Linked DNA regions of Homo sapiens: all the other regions are linked to region 2. The links are contacts of gene promoters, found by promoter capture Hi-C in human tissues and cell types (Jung and others, 2019). All regions are on one chromosome and are shown on one strand. The core of a region is centred on a gene start or on the middle of the fragment in contact, and the rest is flanking DNA. Distances in the headings are between cores, read along the strand shown. Region 1 overlaps GARRE1 (granule associated Rac and RHOG effector 1). Region 2 holds the start of WTIP (WT1 interacting protein). Region 3 overlaps ZNF302 (zinc finger protein 302).

The links. Contacts are between HindIII fragments. The study calls those that stand out against the background at their distance.
Region 1: a fragment that was not itself captured here is called in contact with the fragment with the promoter of WTIP in region 2 in 1 of the 25 tissues and cell types used here (pancreas).
Region 3: a fragment that was not itself captured here is called in contact with the fragment with the promoter of WTIP in region 2 in 2 of the 25 tissues and cell types used here (mesenchymal stem cells and pancreas).

Annotation. Positions count from the first base shown.
Region 1 is chr19:34,321,565-34,325,805 of GRCh38, reverse strand. All of the region lies in intron 3 of GARRE1 (granule associated Rac and RHOG effector 1), which reads right to left. Among named protein-coding and RNA genes, the nearest start is that of GPI, 42 kb to the left of the region's middle. The HindIII fragment of the contact is 5,735 bases long and covers 1-4,241 here.
Region 2 is chr19:34,479,381-34,483,621 of GRCh38, reverse strand. It overlaps WTIP (WT1 interacting protein), which reads right to left and starts at 1,864. Exons shown (of 8, transcript NM_001080436.2): 1 at 981-1,864. The coding sequence starts at 1,647. RefSeq lists enhancers at 826-1,480, 1,481-2,136, 2,137-2,791. The HindIII fragment of the contact is 21,139 bases long and covers 1-4,241 here.
Region 3 is chr19:34,679,107-34,682,844 of GRCh38, reverse strand. ZNF302 (zinc finger protein 302) reads right to left here. Exons shown (of 5, transcript NM_001289187.2): 3 at 1-68. Among named protein-coding and RNA genes, the nearest start is that of ZNF302, 3.3 kb to the right of the region's middle. RefSeq lists an enhancer at 3,042-3,543. The HindIII fragment of the contact is 3,661 bases long and covers 1-3,080 here.

The sequences.
Region 1 (4,241 bases), core at 415-2,914, 160 kb after region 2:
CAAGGAACTAGAGCCCAGTGAGCGAGGGCAGGGTGGCCACTGATAAGGCTGGCCATCAAGGCAGGAGCCAGACTAGGCAGGTCTAGGCAGGTCGTGCTGAGGGGTCCACATGCTACCCTAAGGAAATGAGAAGCGACATCATCCAATTTTAAAATGAAGGCGAGCAAGACAGGGAGGGGAGAAGTAACGATTCCCTGAACAAGGGTAGCGATGAAGGACGTGGAAGAAGGGGACAGATCTGGGATAAGATTTTGGAGGTGGGAACTGCCGGGTTTTCTTAAGGATTGGACTGGGTGTAGACATGACGGAAATGCTGAAGGATAAATCTCAGGTTTCTCAAGTGAAGCCAGTGTGGGATGGCACCACTCACTAGCATAGAGAGGGTCTAGGGAGGAACAGGTGAGTGGAGAGAGGCTACGCCTGAGCCACCTGTGAGACCCCCGGTAGCAGCTGAGCTCAGGGGCCTGAAGCCCACAGGAAGTGGGCTGCTCACTGATCACACACATTTGAGCCCCCTCCAAGGACACAGGTGGTTTTTCAGTCCCAAGACTGGATGGAGAACCCCTAGGGAGAAGGGCAGCTAGAACTGAGCCTGGAGAAACTCACATTCAGAAATTGTGTTGAGGAAGGAGAAGCCAGTAAACTAGATGAAGAAAGGATGACCCAAGAGGAAAGAAAGGTTGGTTCTTGGATGTCACAAGCTGAGAGTATTTCCAAGGAGGAATATTCTCCACACTGCTGTGAGCTGCTGAAAGTTGTTGAAAGGGTTCCCTGGATTTGAAAACATGGAAGAAGGCACCAATGACCTTGATAAGAGAAGGCATGTTCTTGTATAGGAGTGGAAGCCAGATTTCAGCAAGCTGAATGACATTATGTATATAAAGTTTCAGACTGTGTAAAATAATACCTTATGTATAGATACATTCATATACGGAAAAAATATTAAAATATGCACAAGGATCACACGCTTCAAATTCAACAGAGGTTATCTCTAGAGACAAAGGGATGAATAAGAAAGTGGAGAGGTACAAAAGGGATTCAAGTGCATTTACAGACCGGGTGCAGGAGCCTAGGAGCTTGGGACCGGCCTGGGAACATAGCAAGACCCTGTCTTTAAAAAAATAAATAAAAAGTAAAATAAAATAAATAATTAGCCAAGCATGGTGGTGCATGCCTATAGTCTGAGCTACTCAGGAGGATTGCTTGAGCCGAGGAGGTCAAGATTGCAGTAAGCTGTGATCACTACCGCACTCCAGCCTGGGCAACAGAGCAAGACCCAGTCTCAAAAAAAAAAAAAAAAAAGTGCACTGGTGATATTTTTCTGTTAAAAATATGTAACAGGCATGAGCAAATATGGCAGGCAGCTAAAAGGAAGATACACTGATGGGTGTGAAATGTTCTATGTGCCTGAAATACTTCAATAATAATTACTTTTTAGACTACTCTGAGTAAACTGTCCACGGGGTGTGCCAGGAGCAGTAAGGAGCCACAAGGTGCAGTAAAAATAAAATAGTAATTTTTTAGAATGAATGAAAGGTGAAAAAAAGGTAGACAACTACTCCAAGAAGTTGGCTGAGAAAAGAGCAGAGAAACAGGGCAGGGCAGAGTGGACTTTTCTGTGGGAAGCATCTTTGTGTACTGGTGGGAACAGGCTGAGGATGAGGGAGAGAAAACACTAGGTCGCACCACAGAAGCTGGGCCCTCGAGGATGGGGGCAAGGCCAGCACGGGGCAAGCCTGGACAGGAGGAGAGGGCACCTCCTCTGCTGTCATGAGGCAGGGGAAGGAAGAAAAGATGGTTGTGAAGAGGGATGGCAGGAGTGGTGGTGGCTTGGCCACATGAGGAAGAAGGGCTGCCATCAGGGAGATTCTATTTGCTCAGTGTAGTAGGGGGTGGCATCACTGGCTGAAAGCAAAGGGAATGTAGAAAGGGCAGAAAGGCCTGGACAGACTAAAATGGTGGCAAAAAAGGTCAAGGTGAAGACGTCAAGAGAGAACTCGGAGGCCTCCTCCTGTGGGCTGGTCCTCAGCATGAGTTGTCTAGAAGATGGAGCAGGGGACCAAGGCAGGTGTTAGGTTCACGTGTGTGAGCTGAACAGTCAGGAGGCTGGGGCCCAGCAGCCAGGAGGACACCGAGGGTTGTAAAGTCACATGACAAGGCAACAAGGTGCAGGTCTGGACCTCAGGGCTTAGCCATCTACAATAAAGCTAACAGGTCCCACCCCCACACACAGCCTCCAATTAGCATTCCAGGGCCTTTCTGATGAACAGAAAGAAAGCCCTAGGAAGTCTTTAGCATGAAAGACAGACCAAAACATGCAAGAAAACAGTGAAAATTAAAAAGAAATGACAACAATGCAGCAAATGGCATGAAATTGAAATAATAAAACTAGAGACTGGACAATATTAACATGTGAAAAATCATGTTTTGAAAATTTTATTAAAGAAAATTTCCAAAACATAAAATGAAATACTAGGCCGGGCGCCGTGGCTCACGCCTGTAATCCCAGCACTTTGGGAGGCTGAGGCGGGCAGACCACGGGGTCAGGAGATCGAGACCATCCTGGCTAACACAGTGAAACCCTGTCTCTACTAAAAATACAAAAAATTAGCCAGGTGAGATGGCAGGCACCTGTAGTCCCAGCTACGCGGGAGGCTGAGGCAGGAGAATGGCGTGAACCCCGGGGGGCGGAGCCTGCAGTGAGCCAACATCGCACCACTGCACTCCAGCCTGGGCAACAGCGAGACTCCACCTCAAAAAAAAAAAAAAAAAAAAAAAAAAAGAAAAGAAATACTTTGCCAAGTTAATTATGGAATGATTTGAACTAGACATTATTTAATGAATCACTATATTGCTAACCATAAATTATCTTTTAATCTGTGTTTGCCTGCTGGGATAGTTTAAAAAAATTATCTTTTGGCCCAGGTGGGTGACTCACACCTGTAATCCCAGCACTTTGGGAGGCCGAGTCAGGTAGATCACCTGAGGTCAGGAGTTTGAGACCATCCTGGCCAACATGGCGAAACCCCATCTCTACTAAAAATACAAAAATTAGCTGGGCGTGGTGGCGGGTGCCTATAATCCCAGCTACTGAGGAGGCTGAGGCAGGAGAATTGCTTGAACCCGGGAGGCAGAGGGTACAGTGAGCCGAGATTGCGCCACTGCACTCCAGCCTGGGCGAAGGAGCAAGACTCCGTCTCAAAAAAAAGAAAATTATCTTTTACTCTGTAAAATGGAGCAGTAAGTCCTAAAGTCTCAACTTCTAAGATTTATTTTTTATTTCTCATACTGGAAAGAAATAAGTATTAAAATGCCTACAAGAAATGTCACTAATGGCCAGGCATGGTGGCTCACACCTGTAATCCCAGCATTTTGGAAGGACAAGGCAGGTGGATCACCTGAGGTCAGGAGTTCAAGACCAGTCAGGCCAACATGGTGAAACCTTATCTCTACTAAAAATACAAAAATTAGCCAGGCGTCGTGGTGCGCGCCTGTAATCCCAGCTACTCGGGAGGCTGAGGCAGGAGAATGGCTTGAATCTGGGAGGCAGAGGTTGCAGTAAGCCAAGATCACGCCATTATACTCCATCCTGGGCAACAAGAGCGAAACTCTGTCTCCCAAAAGAAATGTCACTGATTATAGGCAAAGTCTCCTTAAAACAGACTTTTTCAGAGCTGTTTTTGATTGCCTTTTATTTAAGCTTAAATTCTTCTGGCTGTGGAAAAGGAATAGAGAATGCCACACCAGAGTGACTAGGAAAGCAACCCTGCGCTAGGCTAGAATCCCCCCACCGGAGCGGCTCCCTGCAGCCCACCATTTAGTCATGAGGTTGTCACCACGAGAGGAGAATCCCACAATTCTCCTTCACATTATCCCTGATGACCATGCCATACCATCCCACACCACTGCGCTCTCTATCCACTAGGGAGCCAACCACTCAGTCTAGCTCTTGCATGATGGCTAGATTTTATAAACATATCTGCTGTGCTGGGAAATAGCTGATCTTCCAAGGGATAAAAGACTTCATGTTGGCCCAGTGCAGTGGCTCACGCCTGTAATCCCAGCACTTTCAGAGGCCAAGGTGGGTGGATCACAAGGTCAGGAGTTCAAGACCAGCCTGGCCAAGACGGTGAAACCCTGCCTCTACTAAAAATACAAAAATTAGCTGGGGCTAAAATACAAAAATTAGCCGGGCATGGTGGCGGGCGCCTGTAATCCCAGCTACTTGGGAGGCTGAGGCA
Region 2 (4,241 bases), core at 615-3,114:
AGGAAACATCCTATGTCCACAGCACAGTCCGGGCGAGGGCAGCCCCGTGTGACTGGCACGGTTCCCCTCTCCCGCAAAGTGGGCTTTTCTTCCCTCACACAGTCTCCCTCTCCAGCCGCTACCATCACCAAAGCCTGGGTCAGGCGGTATCCGGTGGTACCTGGGCCACTCCATCTCCCGGTTGCTGTCCACACCCATACCGTGGCGGGGCAGACGGGGAAGCACCCCTTTCTGCTCATCACGAAGCATGAAAGGATCAGATAGAATGAGAGCACCAAACGCAAAGAAGAAAAGATCAGGCCGGGCGCACTGGCTCAAGCCTGTAATCCTAGCACCTTGGGAGGCCGAGGAGGGCGGATCGCTTGAGCCCAGGAGTTTAAGACCAGCCTGGGCAACATAGGGAGACTCTGTCTCTACAAAAAAAAAAAAAAAAAAAAAGTAAGAAGAAGAAAAGCTGGGCATGGTGGTGTGCACCTGTAGTCCCAGCTTCTCGGGAGGCTGAGGCGAGAGGATCGCTTCAGCTTGAGAGGCGACGGCTACAGTAAGCCGAGGACGCGCCGCTGCACTCCAGTCTCGGCGACAGAGGAAGACCCTGTCTCAAAAAAAAAAAAAAAAGAAGAAAGAAAAAAAAAAAAGAAGAAAGAAGAAAAAATTATCAGAAAATGGCTCAGTGTGCCCATGAACCTGACTTGCCTGTTAAGTTAGGAACCGCACATCAACTCACTCGGCCAGAACCCCTCGTGTGTCGGGGGACCCAGAGGCAGGGGTGAAGCCGCTGCTGGGGATCCAGGCGCACTCACTCACCCTTTGCGCTCCCCAGTCCCCAGGGGATGCACCTTCCTCGTCCCAACCCCGTGCACTGCTGCACCCCCAGCCAGCCCCGTGCTCTCCTCCGCTGATCCGGCCGCCTACCCGAGGCAGTCTCGGAACCCCGGACCCCAGCCATGCGCGCAGGGAACTGCCGGGCCGAGCGAGCTCACCGAAGTAGTCCCGCGCCGTGCGCGCCTCGAGCGCCCGCTCCAGCTCCCGGGTGAGCGCCTCCAGCCGCCGCTCGGCCGCGCTTGGGCCGCCCTCCCGGCCAGGGGGCAGCGGGAGTGCAGGCAGCGGGAAGGGAGCCGGCCCCGCAGGCTCCGGGGAGCGAGCGGGCGCGGGGCAGGCGCCGGGCGGGAGGAAGTCAGCGTAGGCGCCGGCCGAGCCCCGGGAGCCGAGGCTGGAAACGCTGGAGCGGGCGCTGCCCACCGAAGGCGGCCCGGGACCGGGACGCGGGTCCGAGCGACCGGAGCGCGGGCTGCCGTGGCGCTGGTCGTAGCCCAGGCTGATGCCGCTGGATCGGGCGCTGCCGCCACCGCCGCCGCCGTCGGACCCCGCCAGGCTGGCCCGTGGGCTGCCCGCAGGCTGCGCGCTGAGCTCCGGAACCGCCGCGCGCCGGGGACCCCGCTCCCCGCGGCTCAGTCCGTCCGCCCCGGCCTCGGGGCCGCCGCTGCCCTTCCCTCTGCGGCCCAGCGCGGGCGCCGCCTCGTCTCCAGGCCCAGGCCGCGGCCCCCGCCGCCCCCGACCGGGAGAGCCGCACCCGGGCTCCAGCTCCCGCAGGGCCAGCCCGGCCAGGAGTAGGGCCGCCTCGTCCGCGCCCGCCCTGGAGCGCTGCATGGCCCGGCCCGCCGGCCCTGGCGCGTCACCTCCGCCTCCGCTTCCCGCCGCCGCTCCGGCCGGGCCGCCGCATCGTCCGCCCGAAGCCCGGAGCCCGCCCCGGGACCCCTGGGCGCGGGGCGGGGCGGGGCCGGCGCCGGGCCGGGGTCGTTCCGGCGGCCACGCGCGGGCCGGGGGACGCGGCGCCCTGCTCGGCGGCGCGCGCGGCGGAGGAATGTAAGCTCCCAGGCGCCGGGCCGCGCCCCCTCCTCGCCGCGGCCTCGCGCGGGGCGGAGGGACTCCTTTGCGGGGGCAGGAATGCGAGGAAGGAGACGGCGCTGCGGCCTCTGGAATGTGGGGGGAGTGGCGGCGGCCGCGCTGCGCCGGGACCTCGGAGGGGCGTGGAGGCCGGGCCAGGACGCAGGGGCGGGCGGCGGAGGCACCGCGGGGAGAGCCCAGGGTCTGCGGGGCGCCCGGGCCGTCGGGCCGCTGGGAAGAGCTCGGATTTCCGCAGGCTGAGCTGGAGGCAGCTGGCGCCATCCGGGCCGGAGAGATCCAAGCAGTCGACAGCTTTCCCCACATCCCGCCCCATCTCCCTTCCCTGCGCCGCCTTGCTCTCCGGCGCTGCAGGGCCGACCCAGCTCAGCTTGGAACCCACGGCGCTTCGCCCGTCCCGCGCCCAGGAATACTGTGCGCCTAGCGCAGATGCGTCCCCACGACCCCCTGCCTGGCCCGGGGCCATGTGGCCGCGCACCGGCCTCTGAAGCCCCCATCTGACTGCTGGGGAAGGCGCCCAGAACTAGGAGCGGGTTGGTTGGGGACTGGTCCTCGCGCTGGGTCGCTTCGCCCAGGCCCCCAAGGCCAGGCTAGAAGCAGGCCTCAGGCTCAGAGCCGGTGGGCGGCGAGCCTCCCCTGTGGCCATCACAGGCAGTCCCCGTGAAATATGGGGACTCCTCCCTTTTCCAGCACCTGCATCCAGGGTGGTGGGTGAGGCTTCGAGGGGAGGTCCTGGAACCAGCGGGGCCATAGGGGCCACATAGGTGGGGAATCGAGAGGTGACTAGGGCTTCGTGCCCAAGGACACAACTAAAATCCCTTGTACAAGTCACACGGCTATAGGGAAGAAAACCAAACCGTTATCTGTCAGGGCCTGATGGATCCAAGAAAAGTGTTGCGTGAGAGAGTACTGTTTTCCAGGCCCTCTCTGCTCAGAGATTTTCGGGAAGGCGCCTACAGTGGCTCAGCGCGCAGGGAGCCCGCACGGGAACTGTCCCGGCCAGACCGCCCAGGGCAGTGTGGCCTCAACACCACTGAGCACCCGCTGGGGCCGCTAACCCCAGCACCTTCCCATAGCCTGCGGAGTTCCAGCCCCTGCCCCACCAGGGTAGGGGAAGTGGAAGCAAGCATTTCGTGTGCGCGGAGGGTGGGGGAGTTGCGCTGTTTTGTTTTTTTCAGACAAGGTGTCGCTCTGTCCCCCAGGCTGGAGTACAGTGGTGTGATCACAGCTCACAGTGATCACACACACCCCAGAGTCTCAACCTCCTGGGCTCAAGCAATCCTCCCACCTCGGACTCCTGAGTACGTAGGAGTACAGGCGCACACCACCACACAAAACGCTGAGATTACAGGCATGAGACTCCGTGCGGGGTCTAGAAGCCAGCATTTGGGAGAGCAAATACCCAGGGAAGCCAGGACATGAAAAATGGTCTACCTTTCAAATGAGAAAGGAAAAGCCAGTTCAGTCATATCACATTTCATGGACTGCATTATCTACTATTTAAAAATTACAATATTGGCAGGACTGTGGTGAAACAGTTGCACATATGCTACTGGTATGAGTGCAAATTGGGATATCCTTTTGGGAAGAGCAGTTTGGCGGTGTCAACATCCGCACAAACGAACACGAAACTTAGAAGCAGTAATACTGCTGCTAAACATCTATTCAAGGGAAGTTATCAAAAATGCAGACAATAATCCAATCACAACCGTGTCGTATAATCCCAACATCATTTAGGTAATCTACAGCGGTCCCCAACCTTTTTGGCACCAGGGACTGGTTTTGTGGAAGACAATTTTTCCACAGACAGGGATGGGGAGGGTGGGAATGGCTTCAGGATGATTCAAGGGCATTATATTTATTGTGCACTTTATTTCTATTATTATTACATTGTAATATATAATGAAATAATTATACAACTCACTATACCATAGAAAGAGTGGGAGCCCTGTGCTTGTTTTCCTGCAACTAGACGGTCCCATCTGGGGGTGATGGGAGACAGTGACAGATCATCAGGCATTAGATTCTCATAAGGAGCACACAGCCTAGGTCCTTCGCATGCGCAGTTCACAATAGGCTTCGTGCTTCTGTGAGAATCGTGGTGGGACTCAGGTGGTAATGCTCCCTCGCCTCTGCTCACCTCCTGCTGTGTGGCCCAGTTCCTAACAGGCGGTGGTATACTGGTCTGTGGCCCAGGGGTTGGGGACCCCTGATCTATTCTGTCCTAGGATCTCCAGCCTTCTGAAAAGATGCTCAAAGGGAGCTCTCTGCATTTAAAGGCAGCTGTTGGGCTGAGTGTGATGTAATCCCAGTGCTTTGAGAGGCCAGTATGGGAGGAT
Region 3 (3,738 bases), core at 1-2,500, 200 kb before region 2:
CTCTGAGCAGAATCTAGGCATGCCCACTCTTCATGAGAGAAGTCTATAGCCACATCACTAAATGTCACCTGAAATAGCAAATATATTTAGGCTCAGCCATAGCCCAGGCCTCTTCTGTCACTGAAGAAGGGGTAAAATTAGCCTGCTTGTGGAAGAAATGGAACAAGATTCAGGAGCTGTGACAATGACTGGGAATGTGATGTCAGGTAAGTAATAATAGGACAGTTATGTAGTTGGAATTATACAATAAAGGGGACAGTTATGTGCTTAGAATTTTTATACAATAAGAATGAGAGACAAATATGAGAGCTTTGCTTCAGTAATTTTGTTAAAAGTTTAGAATTATATGAATTTTTAAAAATCAACATTTGACATTTGACAGCACAGAGTCAAGTATTTAGTTATATCTTTTATAGCTTACATGCTAGCTAAGTAATTAAAAATAAGGCTAAAGCAATTGTCTCTCAAATATGATACTCAGAAAGATTCACTAAATCTCACAAAAAATGGGTTCAGAAAAAAAAGACATCTTAATATTAAAGACTGATAGACATATGGTTTGATTATGTTCCCCAAAAAAGCATGTATTGAACTTAATCACCATTCTAATAGTATTGAGAGGTTAGATCTTTAGGAGACTATTGGGCCTTGAGGACTCTGCCCTCATGAATGGATTAATGTCATCATCAGGGAAGAGGGTTCCTTATTTAAAAAAATGAGTTCTGGCCCCCCTTTGCCTCTCTCTCGTCTCTTTGCCCATCCACCACAAAAGGACACAGCAAGAAGGCCCTTGCCAGATGCCTGCCTCTTGATCTTGGACTTCCCAGGCACCAAAACCATGAGAAGTCAATTTTCATTATTTATAAACTACTCAGTCTGGGGTATTTGTTACAGCAGCACAAATGGACTAAAACATACACATAACTGATTCATAAACAAAAAAGAAAAATATATTTGTGGTGTATACTTAAACTTCGTGCTGACAAACATTTAATAATTAAAATATGAGACTCCTGGGTGAAAAGACTGAAGGATGGTTTCATGTCATAGATCAGGGGTCTAACACCTGGGCCACGGACTGGTACTGGTCTGTGGCCTTTAGGAACCGGGCAACACAGCAGGAGGTGAGTGGCAGGAAAGAGCATTATCACCCGAGCTCCACCTGCTGTCAGATCAGCTATAGCATAGATTCTTACAGGAGCGCAATCCCTACTGTGAACTGCACATGCAAGGGATCGAAGTTGCACACTCCTTATGTCAATCTAATGCCTGATGATCTGAGGTAGAACGGTTTCATCCCCAAACCATCACCTCCACCACCTCCCACTTCCGTGGAAAAATTGTCTTCCACGAAACTGATCCCTGGTGTCAAAAAGGTTGAGGACTCCTGCCATAGACAGTCCTTAAATAGGACCTGGAAGGGGAAAAAAATAAGAGTAGATTTCAAAGAAAATATTCTAAGGAAATGCTCACAGATGTGCTTAGAAATTCTTCTCAATAGTACTCATTTCACAGTATTATTTAAAATAGTAAAACTTTAGAAGTTTAAATATTCAATAATAGCTTATTGGCTAGTCAAATTATAATATGTGCAAAAAGTACAGCCATTTAATACAGAGTTATTACTGTCTGTGATTTGTAAAACAGACTGCTCTACTGTGGTAATTTTTTAGCTCTGAGAGTTCATTCAGTATTGTATTACTTTATTTGGATATTTTGCATGCATGTTCACCAGTGACATGGATCTTTGGTTTTAAAGGCAGAATTTACTTTTCTCAGGTTTGGAGAAAATAATTAAAATTCGAATCGCCTTCCAATGGCAGAAAATCCTCTCCACAAATGTAGAAAAAAAAAGAAAGCAGTTTTATTACTGAATAAGCTAAATCAGACCTTGATGCACTTCACAAGCGATCCACTATTGAGATGAAAAGGACAGGAAGAAATCTCATCTTTTTATATAGGCAAGCAGATACAATCCAACACACATTTTCCAAATAAACAATAACTTATCCTCAAGTAAGATTTGACAGTTCAATTTGCTACACAAAATTTCTTCTAAATTCACCTGTTAATTGGAGTTGCCACTGTGTTAATTGCCTATATCCCAAATAAAAATAACATTTCTCATATCTTTGACAAACCAGTCATTACAACTTAGAGCCAGGGATGCTTCTTTCTTCCCCTTCAGTTGCCTGGGCAGCTTGAGATGTTCACTCATCTCAGTTCCCAAAAGAACATAGGATATCTATCCTAGCACTTATTTAAATTTCCCATGCTTTCTTACTTTTCTACCAGTGCCACAATCTTCAATACAGGAGCCACTAGCCAACTTGGCTACAACATTTAAATTAATTAAAATGTAAAAATAAAATAATTAAATAAAATTTAAAATTTATTTTCTCCATTGCTTAAGCCACAGTTCAAGTACTCAATAGTCAGATGGGGCTGTTGGCTACCGTACTGATCAGTACACATGCACAGCACTTCCACCACTGCAGAAAGTTCTCTTAGACAATACTGCACTAGATCATGAAGTCCTGTGTGTCAGTGTACACCAAAATCCATGTACAACTCTTCCTAACAGGTACTTCATAAGTGTTTAGAAGATGAACCAATGAATGGTTTTGGCATTAGTTCACTTTAGCCTTTACTTTGTTTTTTCTTTCAAGAGGCAGGTTCTTGCTCTGTCACCAAGCTGGAGTGCAGTGACATAATCATAGCTCACTACAGGCTTACACCAGAGGGCTCAAGAAATCTTCCTACCTCATCAGCCTCCCGAGTAACTGGGACAACAGGCATGCACTACCACACCAGTTTTTCAATTCTAATTATCTTAATTATTCCATGAAAACAGACTTCACCCAAGATGTACATCTGCTACTTACATCCCCTCCTGTGCAAGCTTCACCTTCCATGCCATGATTCTGCCCCACCAGTTCTTCATTACTCATCTTATTCACTCCACAATTACTTACTAAGCATCCATTTGGTGCCAGGTAACACTCTGGGTACTGACGCTATAACAGTCAACAAAGAAGAAAAAGCATTCCTCCCACCAGGAACAGACAATGAGCACGTGCATATACTGAACATACAGTACATCAGCTAGTGAGTGACACACACTGTGGAAAACAACAAAGCAGTGATGGAGGAGTGGAAGCGCTAGGGAAGGTGACTGCAATTGCAAATAGGCTTTCAGGGAAGCTGTTCTGAGAAAGTAACCACGGAACAAACACAGAAGGAGATAAGGATGCAAGCTTGTGCGTATGTGGGGGAAGAATATTCCACGTGGATGGCACAGCAACTGGTGACAGAGGCTGGAGCGCACAGGAATGAGGAGGCAGAGAAGGAAGGTGGGATCAGGGAGGTAATGGCCTAATTGTACAAATAGGTCATTGCAGAAGTGACTCAGTTAGAACCACTGAAAAATTTTAGGTTGCGGAATGACAGGAATTTATATAACAATAGGACCATGGTCACAGCTGTACTGAGAACAGACTGATGAGGGTTAAGGGCAGATGCTGGGAATCCAGCTAGGAGGCTACCGCAATAATCCAGGTGGCTCGGACTGGGGTGGTAGTGGTGGTGGTGGTGATGGGCTAACTAATGGTCAGATGCTGTATACGGTGTATCGTTTAGATCCAAACTAGAGGACCTGAATATGAGTTATAAGTCAAAAGGAAGAATCAAGGATGACTCCAAACATCTCTTCACTTGAGACCACATGGTACAGTTTTG